Regions from separate parts of the Homo sapiens genome. Here all the other regions are linked to region 3. Evidence: promoter capture Hi-C in 16 types of primary human blood cells and fetal thymus (Javierre and others, 2016). All regions are on one chromosome and are shown on one strand. The core of a region is centred on a gene start or on the middle of the fragment in contact, and the rest is flanking DNA. Distances in the headings are between cores, read along the strand shown. Region 1 has its middle 39 kb from the start of MIR573. Region 2 overlaps LOC124900678 (a long non-coding RNA gene). Region 3 holds the start of LGI2 (leucine rich repeat LGI family member 2). Region 4 has its middle 6.1 kb from the start of MIR573. Region 5 has its middle 23 kb from the start of MIR573.

The links. Contacts are between HindIII fragments. The CHiCAGO score rates a contact against its expected background, and 5 or more counts as called.
Region 1: a fragment that was not itself captured here is called in contact with the fragment with the promoter of LGI2 in region 3 in 3 of 17 cell types (M0 macrophages, M2 macrophages and monocytes); the score reaches 7.5 in M0 macrophages.
Region 2: a contact is called between a fragment that was not itself captured here and the fragment with the promoter of LGI2 in region 3, in 1 of 17 cell types (M2 macrophages). The highest score is 5.7, in M2 macrophages.
Region 4: a fragment that was not itself captured here is called in contact with the fragment with the promoter of LGI2 in region 3 in 3 of 17 cell types (M2 macrophages, M1 macrophages and monocytes); the score reaches 9.0 in M2 macrophages.
Region 5: a fragment that was not itself captured here is called in contact with the fragment with the promoter of LGI2 in region 3 in 6 of 17 cell types (M2 macrophages, M1 macrophages, M0 macrophages and 3 more); the score reaches 12.5 in M2 macrophages.

The regions. Positions count from the first base shown.
Region 1 is chr4:24,479,559-24,482,258 of GRCh38, forward strand. No RefSeq gene overlaps it. Among named protein-coding and RNA genes, the nearest start is that of MIR573, 39 kb to the right of the region's middle. The HindIII fragment of the contact is 1,045 bases long and covers 826-1,870 here.
Region 2 is chr4:24,455,609-24,458,308 of GRCh38, forward strand. The region is part of intron 1 of LOC124900678 (a long non-coding RNA gene); the gene reads left to right. It also overlaps a transcript of PPARGC1A not described here. Among named protein-coding and RNA genes, the nearest start is that of MIR573, 63 kb to the right of the region's middle. The HindIII fragment of the contact is 6,066 bases long and covers 1-2,700 here.
Region 3 is chr4:25,029,662-25,032,361 of GRCh38, forward strand. LGI2 (leucine rich repeat LGI family member 2) reads right to left here and starts at 1,285. Exons shown (of 8, transcript NM_018176.4): 1 at 836-1,285. The coding sequence starts at 1,032. LOC124900684 (a long non-coding RNA gene) reads left to right here and starts at 447. Exons shown (of 2, transcript XR_007058083.1): 1 at 447-572. The HindIII fragment of the contact is 5,840 bases long and covers 562-2,700 here.
Region 4 is chr4:24,512,870-24,515,569 of GRCh38, forward strand. No RefSeq gene overlaps it. Among named protein-coding and RNA genes, the nearest start is that of MIR573, 6.1 kb to the right of the region's middle. The HindIII fragment of the contact is 1,811 bases long and covers 469-2,279 here.
Region 5 is chr4:24,496,384-24,499,083 of GRCh38, forward strand. No RefSeq gene overlaps it. Among named protein-coding and RNA genes, the nearest start is that of MIR573, 23 kb to the right of the region's middle. The HindIII fragment of the contact is 3,560 bases long and covers 1-2,700 here.

The DNA of each region.
Region 1 (2,700 bases), core at 98-2,597, 550 kb before region 3:
TGCTTGCCTTTGGGTTGACTTCATTTTCCATTCCACATGGAGCCTCCAACATAACTGGCTCACCTCTTCCTTTGTATCAGTGGTCCTAACAGAAAGAGAGTAGACAGATGAGATAGATGTGCATCTCTCTCTCTCTCTCTCCCTCCCTCCCTCCCTCCCTCCCTCTCTCTCTCTCAACAGTCCAGTCAAAAATCCTTAGATCCTAAAACATTGGCTCTGATTGGGTCATGTTCCCATCTTTACATTAATTATGGTAATCAGTGGGATGCAATGCTCTGTGATTGGCCAGGCTTGAGTCTCATGCCCATCCTTGGCTCTAGAAGTCCATAACACCAAAGCAAATAAACAGACTGAAGAAGACGTAGCTTCCCAGAGGAAAATTCGAGGACAGTCTGTGTATCTGGTACTTTTGGGAGAATGATGATTGGATGTCAAGCAGGCAAAAATGGCAGTCATCCACATTGCACCTACTATGTTCTCTGCACTGTGGCTAACATGATAGAGGGTACGTGACCACTTTTTTGTCTTTAAGGAGCAGACGCTATGTTCAGAAAAAAGGTGTCACTACCTGTAGAACAACAAATAAAATATATAATAATAAATGAAGTTCACTGATGAGCATATCACAGGTTGTTATTTGCAGGCAACAGAATTCACTTCAGATACTTTAGGCAGAAAGTCTTAGGTAACTCATATAATTTCCAGGAGGGTTAGAGAATTGGGTTTGGATGCTACAAATAGGAACAAAGCTGCCAGGAAAAAAAGCTATATGACAATAGACTGGACACCAGAAACTCTACCACCCACAGTCTTGGAAGAACAGGAAGCTTGGTAACCTCATTTGCCAGAACATCTGATCTCCCTGTACTTAGCAGTTGCCATACATTGTGCACTTCTGCCTGTAAGACTGGAGAAGGTGTGTTTGCCTGGAGGCACCTTGGTCACATGGGTGACCTGCAAAAGGTTCTGGGAAATGTTGCTTTTGGCTCTCTGGCCTCTATGAACCACAGAGTTAGTAGGAGAATGTTGCAATGGAAACCGAATGAGTTAATTTACGATATCTGCCACAGAGCAGGTGACAGGAGTTCAGGGGAGAGAAGAATAAAAAGGCCAAGATCCAATCGTCTGTCACATTGGTTGTCTGACATTTGCTTAAAAATCAGAGGCTATAGATGCCGGGGATAAAATGTCCACAGAAGCCACACCTGGTCCATACCTCCAAGTTCTGGATGCCATTTGAAGACAGATGATGGCAAGTTGTGTTTGTCCATGGGCAGAAGATCAAGAAGAAGTCTGGGCTATGTTGTATGAACCATCTTGACACCTCCCTCCCCTTCAATATCAATATCCAATGTCTCTCCTTAAATGCTTCCCCTTCTGTCTACTTCCACTCAGTCACCTATGCTGGGCTACCTTTCTCTTCTGTCAGGACCCTATGGTAGATTCCTAACAGGTCTTTTTGCATCCATTGTGACCCAGCCATTCTTCATCCTGCAAAAAGAATAATGTCTTCAAAGCGCAAATCTAATCATAGCGCGCTTCAGTGGCTTTCATTGCTCTTTGGATCAAAACCCAAATCCTAAAAATGACCCCTTTCAGTTCCTCTAATCTAGACACCTACCCCAACCCCAAGTCTGACACAATTTTCCATAATCCCACAGGGCTTTCTAAGGAGTTACAAGGCCCCTTGTGACCAGATTCTTCCACGGACCTCTCCAGCTCATCTCAAGTGACTTTTTCCTTTGCTCCTTCTCAAAGGCCTCCCAACTCACACAAGGCCTCAGTGTGGCCAGCTCACTTAAGCTCTCAGAGACGTCAGATTCTTCCACCTCAGTGTGGCTTTGCCCCTACTCTTCCCTCTGCCTGGAGAAGCTTTCCTACCCTTCCTGCCTGCCTAAGACCTTCTCAAACTCTAGAGTAGAGGTCATCATTTTGAGGAAAGTCTCTTGTCACAGTCCCAGAGGAAAGCCCTTTCATCTCTTCTCCTGGTTTCTGCCACACCTCTGTTCCATCTCCCACCAGCTGGTCTTATTCACTGTGGTTTTCCTCACCTAGCACAGAACCCACTCAATACAAGTTGACTGAACAAGACCAAATAAACGTTAAAAGGAAGAAGAAAAAAAAATCCCTCTACACAGAAAGCAGTAATAAATAAAATGTGTTCTACTACCACCTTAAGACCTCAATTAATGTGCTTTTCTCCTCGTGAATCCTTGCTTCCAAGCAAATAGAATCTGACAGGCCGAATTAAATCATTTATCTTTCTAGGTCTCTGCCTTGGTTCTAACACTAGTGAAAAAGCCCTGATATTTCATAAGAAACTGGCAAAAGCAAGAGCTACGGCCTGGTACCTTGACTTTATCTGGTGGTGCAACCGATATATACATGTGTCAGGAGAAAAACATTCATTTCCAATGCTTCTTTTACCTAGGTGGAATTAAATGCCAGATTACCATATTTGATCATTTTGTTTTCTCACACACACCCTAAGGAACCTGTGTGTGTGTGTGTGTGTGTGTGTGTGTGTGTGTGTGTGCGCGCGCGCGCGCATGCGTGTGCGTGTGCGTGCCAACCAGGTTATTTAACTCCATACGTGGCTACAGCTGCAAACTACAGTGCAAACAGCCTTAGTGACAAAAACACAACCAGAAATGCTTAAAACTTCTGCTAAATGTTATGTTCCAGTTCCATCTTACACAT
Region 2 (2,700 bases), core at 190-2,689, 570 kb before region 3:
CAACAGTGTTGAGTGTTTAAGAGTTAATTATGTGATGAAGGCCCTGCTCTCATGAATGGATTACTGTCATTATCTCCAGAGTTGGTTAGTTGTTCCAAGAGTGAGCTTATTATAAGAGGGAGCTCACCTCCTCTTGCCCTCTTGCTCTCATGCGTTCCTGCCCTTCTACCTTCTGCCATGAAATGATGCAACACGAAGGCCCTCACCAAACATCAGCACCATGCTCTTGGACTTACCAACCTCCAGAACTGTAAGAAATAAATCTCTGTTTTTTATAAATTACCCAGTCTGTGGTATTCTGTTATAGCAACACAAAATGAACTAAGATAATTATCTAGCTGAGCTTGGCAGATAGGCTGCTTTAGACACTATCTGCCTCTTTGCTCAAAGAATCTGTGAGCTACTGGTGGCAGCCAATGTCACACTCATGCTGATTAATGCCATTAAAAGGTATAGTACCCAGCATTAGCTGGGCCTTTCATGCCATGCAACAAAGGGAAAAAAAGAGACAAATAACCCCTAAAGGGAAGTGAAAGATTGATGGGAGAATTTTTCAAGATGGGAGAGATTTTGGTACATTTATTCCTAATTTTATTGAGTCATAAAGCTGTAACTGATGCATTGAAGTCCTGGAGAGGATGGCAAGGGATGATATCCACAGCACAGGTGGAAGAAAAGCTAGGGGTGGAAAGATAAGAGATTTCCAGATATGAGACAAGAGGTTGAGGGAATTCACATTGGGTGACCATGAATCCTTACCTGGAAGGAAGCCCATTGGTGGGCAGGGGAGTTGGGGACAGTGGGAAATGTTCAGAGCTGCAGATATGAACAGTGAGTGAGCTTGATATTCCATACGATATTTGCTAGATGACGCTGAAGTTGAGGATAATAAAATTATACTGGCATTCTTTGGTATGGCTGGTTTTTTCCAACAGCAGGAAATAGCTTGCATGCAGAAGCAAACAGAACAGTTGGTTGCACCAATCCAAGACTAGGATTTTTGTGGACAGATATAGAAGGGTGAGAGATTAAGAGCTTTGAGGTTTTAGCAAGACAGTGGTTAACATAATATATCATGGGATCTCTCAGCTGGCTAAAAGGAGTCAGGGGAAAAGCATGGTTAATGAACTTGGAAAAAGGGAGAGTAGGGGAGCAAGCAGAGAGGCTATGAGGGTATAACCAGATATGGTTACACTGGAGTTTAATGTTCTGGAAGCAGAGACATTACAGAAGACAAGGCCAGAGTGTGGGCAATGTGACTGAGCTGGCAAAGTATGGTGGGGATGAAGTCTTGCAACTCTGAAGCTAAGTCACTGGATATTTCCTGCACACGCAGATGCTGAAGACCACCCTGATGGTGGCAGTTCAGATAGCAAAGAGGACATGAGCCAAGGGACTGAGCCTTCATGGGACCAGAGGAAGTAACAGGGATACAATAAGACAGCCAGGAAAAAGGGTAGAATATGGTCTATGGGAATTTCACTGGGAGGTATGGGATCATACAGTTTTGCAGGATTATGGCAAAGGAATGTTTTGGAAGCAATAGTGACCACAGCTCCTTTGAGCCTGGGAAGTGTAGACAAATGAATAGTCACTCCCCCTGCCCTCTCCAGAATGCACTTTCTTGGGGAAAAATCAGATGTGGGGAGGGAGAGTTTAATGAACCGGGGTCCAAAGACGTTGTTGAAAAAAATTATGAGAAAGTCAAGTGAGAAAGAAAGAGGGGCAAGCCAGAGAGAATGAGAATGACCTTCACTGTGGGGTTTAATGTTTCATCTTGAATATGAGCTTTATTTTTCACAAATATCTTTAAGATTTCTAGCCTGGGTCCAATCAGACAAACAATAATGATGCCATAGGATATAGTCAACATTCCTCTTCTCTTGGAATTATCTCAGGAATAACAAAAGATACTGTTTTTTGTTTGTTTGTTTGTTTGTTTGTTTGTTTGTTTTAAGATGGAGTCTTGCTCTGTCCCCCAGGCTAGAGTGCAGTGGCGCAAACTCGGGTCACTGCAACCTCCGCTCCCAGGTTCACGCCATTCTCCTGCCTCAGCCTCCCGAGTAGCTGGGACTACAGGCACCCGACACCACGCCTGGCTAATTTATTATTTATTTATTTATTTATTTATTTTTTAGTAGAGATGGGGTTTAACCATGTTAGCCAGGATGGTCTCGATCTCTTGACCTCGTGATCCACCCGCCTTGGCCTCCCAAAGTGCTGGGATTACAGGCGTGAGCCACCGTGCCTGACCGAGATACTGTTTAGAGTCCAGGTTTATTCCTTGTTTTGAAGTTAGGTAGTTCAGTAAATAGAACAAGAAAGATTTTTCTCTGTAGATCTCAACAGAACATAGGCCAGTAGGTATTTGCAGAGATATTATACCCTGGAAGGAAAGAAAAAAAGGCTCTGATAACTGGAGTTAAACTCTTGATGTAAACTATTTGCTTGGATCCCTTGACCAACATTTGGTTCTAGCAGCCAAAAGAATTTGCAAAAACTAAAGATGAAGGAAGGTCATCAGAGTTGTAAGAATGACCTCTTGACTAATATGTATGGTTGTTAAAAAGGGTTATTTTGGGGTTTTCAAATGCACAAAGAAAATATTGGGCTGGGCATAGTGGCTCACATCTGTAATCCCAGCACTTTTGGAGGCTGAGGCAGGTGGATTTCTTGACCTCAGGAGTTTAAGAGCAGCCT
Region 3 (2,700 bases), core at 35-2,534:
CACCTCTCGGCAGGTGGATACCTAATGTGAAGCCCTTTCCTGTCAGTTCCTCCTGCTGAAAAAGCAGCCAACACAACTGTGTGATGGAGAAAGGGGGCAAGAAGCCCTCCTGACCTCAGGGCAAGAAGGCTGACTTCAAAGCACTTGGCCACTGGGCTAGGCGCCCAACATGCCCCAAACCTCTGCCCAGCCTTCTGTTACCCCTCTTCTAGGCCACGGGGGGCGGCCCCTCCCCTCCCAGAGCCTGCATGCCTTGACCTCGACTTTTTGCAACCTGCAATGTGGAGAAGTCGGGAGGAGGCCACGGGGTGAACATTCGCCCCAGACCTGATGTGGGGCAGTGAGGCCTCACCCTGCCCAGTTTGCACTCAGTCAGGTCGTGTTCAGCTGCTCCTATGCACGCCCCTACACACACAACTCCAACCCGCAAACACACACACACACACGCACACGCCCTCTCAAACTTTAATGCACCCTTGAGTCTCCCGGGGACGTCAAACGCACACTCCAGGACTCCACTCCAAAGACTGCTTCAGAGCAGCTGGATTCTGCATTGGCACAAGCTTCCCCAGGTGAGTCTGATGCAGGTGGCCCGTGGGCCACACTCTGAGAAACGCTGCCACAGGAACCTGTCTGGGTTCCCAGATTCTGGGGCTCAGGTCCTCACCGTCCTCCCCGGGGGCCAACACTCCACCCACGTCCCCCACACAAAGGCAAAGAAGGGGCCTGGGGAGTGGGTCAGGGTCGCGCTGGCCCGGCGCCAGAGGCAACTCCCTCGCGGCGGCGGACGCAGGGTGGGGCGGGACGGGATGGGGGCTGGAGGGGTCCCACTCACAGGGAGCTGATGTCGCCCGGCACGATCCTGGGCACCCAGGAAGAGCCCACGCAGATGATAGACTCCTTGGTACAGCTGCAAGTGGCGGGGCAGCGCGCCAGCCGCCTCACCTGCGCGCTCCGCGGTATCAGGCACGCGGCGCCCAGCAGCAGCAGCAGCAGCCCGAGCGCTCCGCAGCCGCCTCTCCGCAGCGCCATGCCCGGTCCCCGCTCCCCGCCCGGGCCCCGACCCCCACCGCCGCGCCGCGCGCTCGGACCCGGCGCCGCTGCAGACGCGGGCGCCGCTCGCTGCTCTGCCGCCGCCGCTGCTGGCGAGGACTAGGGAGCCGCGGGTGTGGGAGGCCGAGCCGCAGCCGAGCAGCATGCTGGCCGCCACCCCCACTCGGCGCCCCCCCACCCGAGCCCGGGCTGCTGGGCGGCCGCCGCCGCTGCGCCCGCCGCACTCGCGCCTGCCTGACATCAGCACTCGCGCCCGCAGCCCGGCTCTGGCCAATGAATAATGCATGGCGGGGCCCGCCCCGCGGGGGAGGGGGCCAGCGCCGGCCCCGTGGCGCCCCACCCGGCCCCCACCTCGCCACCCCCTCTCGCCCCGGGCCGGGCGCGGGGACAGAGGGAAAAGTTGGGTGACCTTGGGGGAGGGGCCAAGCCTGGCGGAGACCCCCGTCGGGGCCTGACTGAGCGGTGGAGGATCCGATGCCTGCAATACCTCCAGGGGTATAATCTGGGGAGGGCACTGGGTTCCTTTCAGGCAAATCAATAAAGTCGGAGCGGGGAGTGTGGAGAACCGGCTTGATTACTGGGGAGGGAGGCAGCCCTGGGTGCTTTGAAGAGGAGAGACTTTGGAGCAGCCTTTATTAATTTTGAAGTGCATGCTGCCGGTAGGGTCAGCGAGGATGGCTTTGCTTGTCTTCTGCGGTGGGGCAGTGAGGTCTGGCTCTCGCTCCCACAGCACCAGGGGTTACTGAAGCCAGCCAGTCCTCCCATGGGAGGAACGTGGGGAAGCAAAGCCGCTGCAGCCTGCACGCCCGGCGCTCTGGGCCCTGCCTGCTGCCTGCTAAAGAGCTGGAAAGCCCGGGAAAGTTTCCCCTCGCTCAGCTGCCCACGGGTCACCCCACCCGCCCCAGTCAGAGGAGGGTTTGTAGAGATTGAGGGTGTGATACATTCTAGCCACTGTACTTTTAATCTTCTAACCTTTTGAGGCAGGTCCTACTTATATCCTTAATTTATTGATGAGGCTGCTGACGCCCAGAAAGCATCCTGACTGGCTGATGGTCCAGCAGCTCCTGGCTGGGCAGGATGGGGCTCGGAGCCTTGAAGGGCTACCTTAACTGGGCCCTCCTGAGCCCCTCTTCAACTCCTTAAGTTTGAAGCAATGAGCGGAAATCTTAACACAGGTAATGTGCGGCTGAGGAAATCAAAGAAAATGACCAAAGCGGAAACAAAGTAATGGCTAATAACCTGAACTGCTGGGAGAAGGGAATCACAGCACGACTGTCGAGCTGCAAACCAAGGAAAAGCATGCCAGATGCTAAAACCTACTCAGAAAAGTCAGTATCGAATGCAAAAGTAGGAATCATACTATTGCTTCTTCAGCAATTATTGTTGGTGATCCATTGACAAGATCCATGAGGACGGTATCAGGCTGGCTGCTGTGGGAGGGAACAAAGGAACAGCTCCTGTCCTCAGGGAGCTAAAAGTCTAGCTGGACAGACAACCCTAAAAGAGCAACTCCACTGGCTACAAGGGGGTCACAGACTGACCAAAAGAGGTTCAGGAATTGAAAGAGAGCTTTGCGTAGGCAACTTCATGGAGGGAGTTAGACATTCCCTGCTGGTGACTATGTAAAAAGCACCTGGCATCAGTACA
Region 4 (2,700 bases), core at 124-2,623, 520 kb before region 3:
GCTGTATAATAAACTAAGACGGCTTCATAATATGTGGCAAATTATATTCTTAAGCAATTAACTGTTGCTAACTCTCAGCTATTATATTAATTTATAATAAATGCAAATGAATATATTTGGCTTTGCAATTTTAAAAAAATCTGAATTTGAAAGGTGTAGCATTCTGATAATGCACATCACTTTAGAATGCTGGGTTTTTTTCTTTCTGTTTTTAGTGAAGACATAAATCAGGAAAAATCAATCAAGCAATAAAGAGCTCTGGTAAAACAGAGTCCAGCCAGCACTCCCACCAAAACAGGAGTAAGTTAACTTCCAAATTGCTAAGGATGGCCCACCGGCAGTTAGAGCTTTGTTAGGCTGAGGTTTACACCAGGGTGACTTTTTGAAAGGTCAAGTTACACCGGAGTGACCTGCACCTTCTCTCTTATACCCATAATAAGATGAATTAATCCTTAAATTGGGGAACTAAGCTTCTGCCAGTAGGTATTCCTAAAAATGTGTAGGTTTAAGCAGAAACTGGCACTGTATATTGAAGTACCATTTTGTGGCACTTAGTGCTTTATAATCTTCTCATCTTCTTACTGCCTAAGTGACCCGGGACAGTTAATATCTCTTAGCCTTACTTCATATATTTAATGCAATAGGAATAACACCCTGGGTTCTTCCTAGGGTTGCCATTAGAATTAAATGAGCTCATTGTGCCAGTAGGTCTAGCAGAATGCCAGAGAAGAGGCTCACTAAATATCAGATCTCCACCTTTTTCTAGTCATGCTTACGTTCGGTTAATGGAAATGGGGCTTGACTCAGACATACCCTTAAAGGATCTTGGTGCCATCTTCTTCTGCTAAGAGTTAAAAAGATTTCATTTTAAATACAATTCACAACTGTACCTTCACCATAAGCCTCATTGTATTCTCCCAGCCTTCTAATAGGTCTTATCCTTATTTCCTTGCCCATTCACTGGGGTTAGGTCAAATGGCACAAAACCACATGAGACCTGTGCATGTTGCCCATCAGACAGGATAGGCTAAGTTACACAGTAGTAACAAACAGCTCCAAATCTGAGTGGCTCCTACAACATCAATTGATTTCTTGCTCATCTCCATCTTGGGTCTGTTGGGAGCTTTGCTCTATGATGCCTCATGCTGGAACGTTGCCACAGCAGGGGGAGAGGGAGCACGGTGAAATGACATTGTGCTTGTACAGCTGCCACCCAGATGTGACCCCATCACTTCTGCTCAATCCTGTTGACCTAAGCAAGTCTCACCTGGCTATATGTAACTTCAAGGGGGCAGTGCAAACCTACCACATGCCTGAAATTAGAAATATTTGGAGAACAGCATTAATGACTACCACAGCGATCTTAGTTTACAAAGCATCTGTCACAATGATTACCCAACTTAATCCTCACAATTCCAAGATGGTAATTAATCATTAAATGTGATCATTTAATTATAAGGCATCAGCAAGCACCAACCAAAACAGAAAACCCAATATAAACAGTTCAGGCAACTCTGCCCACTAGTGAGTGAAAGTGTCTGGAGTGCATGAGATACGAGGTATGAATCTGCTACGTGCTCAAGCCTTATCCACCTCTCCAACCTCTCCATGTGTGTGTCATCTATGAGTGGGATTCTGCTTTTGATAAAGATATTTCTTTTTTTGTATGTGGCCTCTGAATGAAGGCCAACCAAGATTCTCAGCTCAAAAGCTGTAATCTTTCAATGTTGGAGGGGAAAAAAGGCCATTTTCCCCCTGCAAAGTAATCAAGCATGCTTCCCTGTCACACCACCTTCTTAGGGAGACTCAATTTGGACTATATCATGATTTCTGCCTTAAGGACTGACTTTAGAGTCTGCCCCTGGATGAGAGCTGAGACATCACTTCATCATTCTCTAAAAGATGAAGAAATGAACAAAGTTTCAGCAGTCAACAAGGACACTGAGCAAGGAAGTGGCTCAAAATTCCCATTTCTTTAAGGCAAGTCTCCTGTAAGGGAATAGCTTAGATGTGGCTCTCCCCATCCAGCTCAGTATTTCACCTACCTATTCCACAATGAAGATGAAAAGTGTGAAGCAGGAGGGTAGCAAATAGTCCTCACTTTTGTTAACCCCCTCAGGGAGGTTTTGGTTTCAAAGTCTGACCACTGGGTGTCAGGCTTCGGGGGAAAGAAAATAGAGATGGTTTATCAACCCCACTTAATTATGCCAGAGAATGCAGGTGAGATTTGCTAAAGGACAGAAAATCAGCTGGCTTAAGTCTGTCAATATGTCTGAAGAAGCTTACTAAACTTTCACTCATCTGACTACACCAATAAATATTTATCTTTTCTAAATCTGTACAAATAATTCATTAGACAGCACACAGCGATATTGACCTCAATCCTGTCCTTGATTTAAAGATTAAAAGGGAGTGGTCAACTTCTGTATCTAGCAATTCTGAAGACAGATAATCTGAAAGCGTCCCTGCAACAAAATACCTAGAAATGCATATAATGAATATGCTTAGGGAATAAATACTTTTTTTTTTTTTTTTTTTTTTTTTTTGAGACGGAGTCTCGCTCTGTCGCCCAGGCTGGAGTGCAGTGGCACGATCTCGGCTCACTGCAAGCTCCGCCTCCCGGGTTCACGCCATTCTCCTGCCTCAGCCTCGCGAGTAGCTGAGACTACAGGCGCCGGCCACCGCGCCCGGCTAATTTTT
Region 5 (2,700 bases), core at 192-2,691, 530 kb before region 3:
CCCAGCACTTTGGGAGGCCGAGGAGGGTGAATCACCTGAGTTCAGGAGTTCAAGACCAGCCTGCCCAACATGGCAAAACCCCATCTCTACTAAAAATACAAAAATTAAATGGGCGCGGTGGCATGCACTTGAAATCCCAGCTACTCAGGAGGCTAAGGCACCAGAATCGCTCGAACCTGGGAGGCAGGGGTTGTAGTGAGCCGAGATCACCCTACTGCACTTAAGTCTGGGTGACAGAGTGAGACTCTGTCTCAAAAATAAATAAATAAATAAAAATAATTTCCTCTGTTGGTGTGGGGAGCAAGGGCGGTTGTCTGGAGCATCGCTCTTTAACTGAGGTAAGTCTTTAGGCACGAGCAGGAGTTGAGTTGGCACGGTGATTAGCCCAGGGAGATGCAGGTTTAAAGGGTGCACACCCAGCAGCAGAGGGAACAGCACGTGCAAAGAAGAAAAACAAGGAAGAACACAGTGCCGTCCTAAAGATGCAGCTAGTTTTGGTGCTGTTGGTTTTGTGGTTATTGCTTATTTTAATATCTCTGGAAAAGTCACAAAAATGGGGTTTAGCCTAGATAAGGAAAAATTGAGCTCAACTGGTTTGTGTAAGGAATAGGTTTCATATCCTCAGGAAACTGATTAGGAAGAAATAGGTTTAAAAAGGAGGGTAGGAAACAAAGAACTTGAAATTACCACTAGGATAATCAAACTTGGGCTTGTGCTACAAATACCACGGAGCTGTGTGTGGAATATCCTTCCACCGGAGGCAGCCGGGAGGAAATGACCAGGACTGACTCCTTGCGGAGGCCAGACCAAGTGACTTCCACCATTTTGTGGCTAATGTTTGTGCAATGGATGGTGTAGCATCATAGTCTCCGACTCTTCCAGAAAATACTCCAGTTTAAATTGGCTACAAATACAATCAATTGTTTGGTCAGTGAAAGGCTGCAGTCTCTATGAACCTTACCATACGCATCTATTTCCATGAGCCAAAATGCTAATGCAATTCCATCCCGTGGAACTATTCCCCGTGGTTAGTCTAAAAATCAGCTTTACTCACCCGGTGAATCAACTGACCACAAAATCCCACTGAGGAAATAACATTGGGAAAGCACCCAAAAAGAATCCTGTTGTGATTTATTTGGAACAACCATTGCTATGTTTTTATTTTTATTTTTATTTATTTATTTATTTTGAGACAGAGTCTTCCTCTTGTCGCCCAGGCTGGAGTACAGTGGTGCGATCTCAGCTCACTGCAACCTCCGCCTCCCAGGTTCAAGGGATTCTCCTGCCTCAGCCTCCCAATTAGCTAAGATTACAGGCACCTACCACCACACCTGGCTAATTTTTGTGTTTTTAGTAAAGATGGGTTTTTGCCATGTTGGCCAGGCTGGTCTTGAACCCCTGACCTCAGGAGATCCACCTGCCTTAGCCTCCCAAAGTGCTGAGACTATAGGCATGAGACACTGCGCCTAGCCAAAAACATTGCTATGTTTTTAAAACACGGTTTTTCAATATTTTAAAAAGATGCCTTTTAAAATATTGATTGGGAAATGACATTTTCCAAGCCTACACCTTCATAGTTACATTGCCCTTAAGAGGTACACTTCTTATTGAGAATCTGTTTTCTCCCACAATATTGATTAAGTCAGGACAATTTGCCAGGCATCAATAATATGCTGCCTTCATGGGACTTACTGTCTAGAATTGCTGCTGCTTCTGCCTGTTCCCACTACTATATTTTCTTGAGCTTCACTTTCTATAATGTGTTATGAAAGCAGTAGGTATTTTTCATTTATCGTATTTTTAAAATATGATAATTATGTTAAATAGGTTTTTTCAAATGATGCATGTTCACCTGCTGAAATGCAAATGCCATCCCCCTTACCATACCCTCCCTCCAAGACACACCTGTTCCCCAAAAGAGACAAACAGATGTTTCTGGATCCTTCCCTTAAATATTTACTTATGATGTGGTAGTAGCTTTCACAACTGACCGTCTCTTAACTACCCTGCTGGATTCACTGTAAACCATGTAGACTTCTGTAAATGATGATGATTCCCATGACCCCTGAAACACCTGAAGCTGGCAGGCTCCACCTGACTTTGTCCATGGATTCCCACATATTGAATTAACCCTTTGCTCCCCAAACCTGTCAAAGCCAGTTTATTCATTCATGCACAGACATCTGAGCGCCTATGATGTGTACACACTGTTTTAAGCTCTGGAGACACTGCAGTGATAAAGAACAGAGAAGTCCTGTCCTCAAGGAGCTTCTATGCTAGTTATACTTATTTGCTTCTACGGTTTAATTACATGTTGTAAAACCTATTTAAAAATGAATGGGAAGCTGGGCATGGTGGTTCATGCCTGTAATCCCATCACTTCGGGAGGCTGAGGCAGGTGGATTACCTGAGGTCAGGAGTTCAAAACTAGCCTGGCCAACATGGTGAAACCCCGTCTCTACTAAAAATATAAAATTAGCCAGGTGTGGTGGTGATTGCCTGTAATCCCAGCTATTCAGGAGGCTGAGGCAGAAGAATTGCTTGAACTGGGTAGGCGGAGGTTGCAGTGAGCCTCGACTGCACCATTGCATGGAGTGACATGCATGGAGTGTTGCCTGGGCGACAAGAACAAAACTCTATCTCAGAAAAGGAAAAAAAAAAAAAAAAAGAATGGGAAAAGAAGTTCTTGCTCCTATGAAA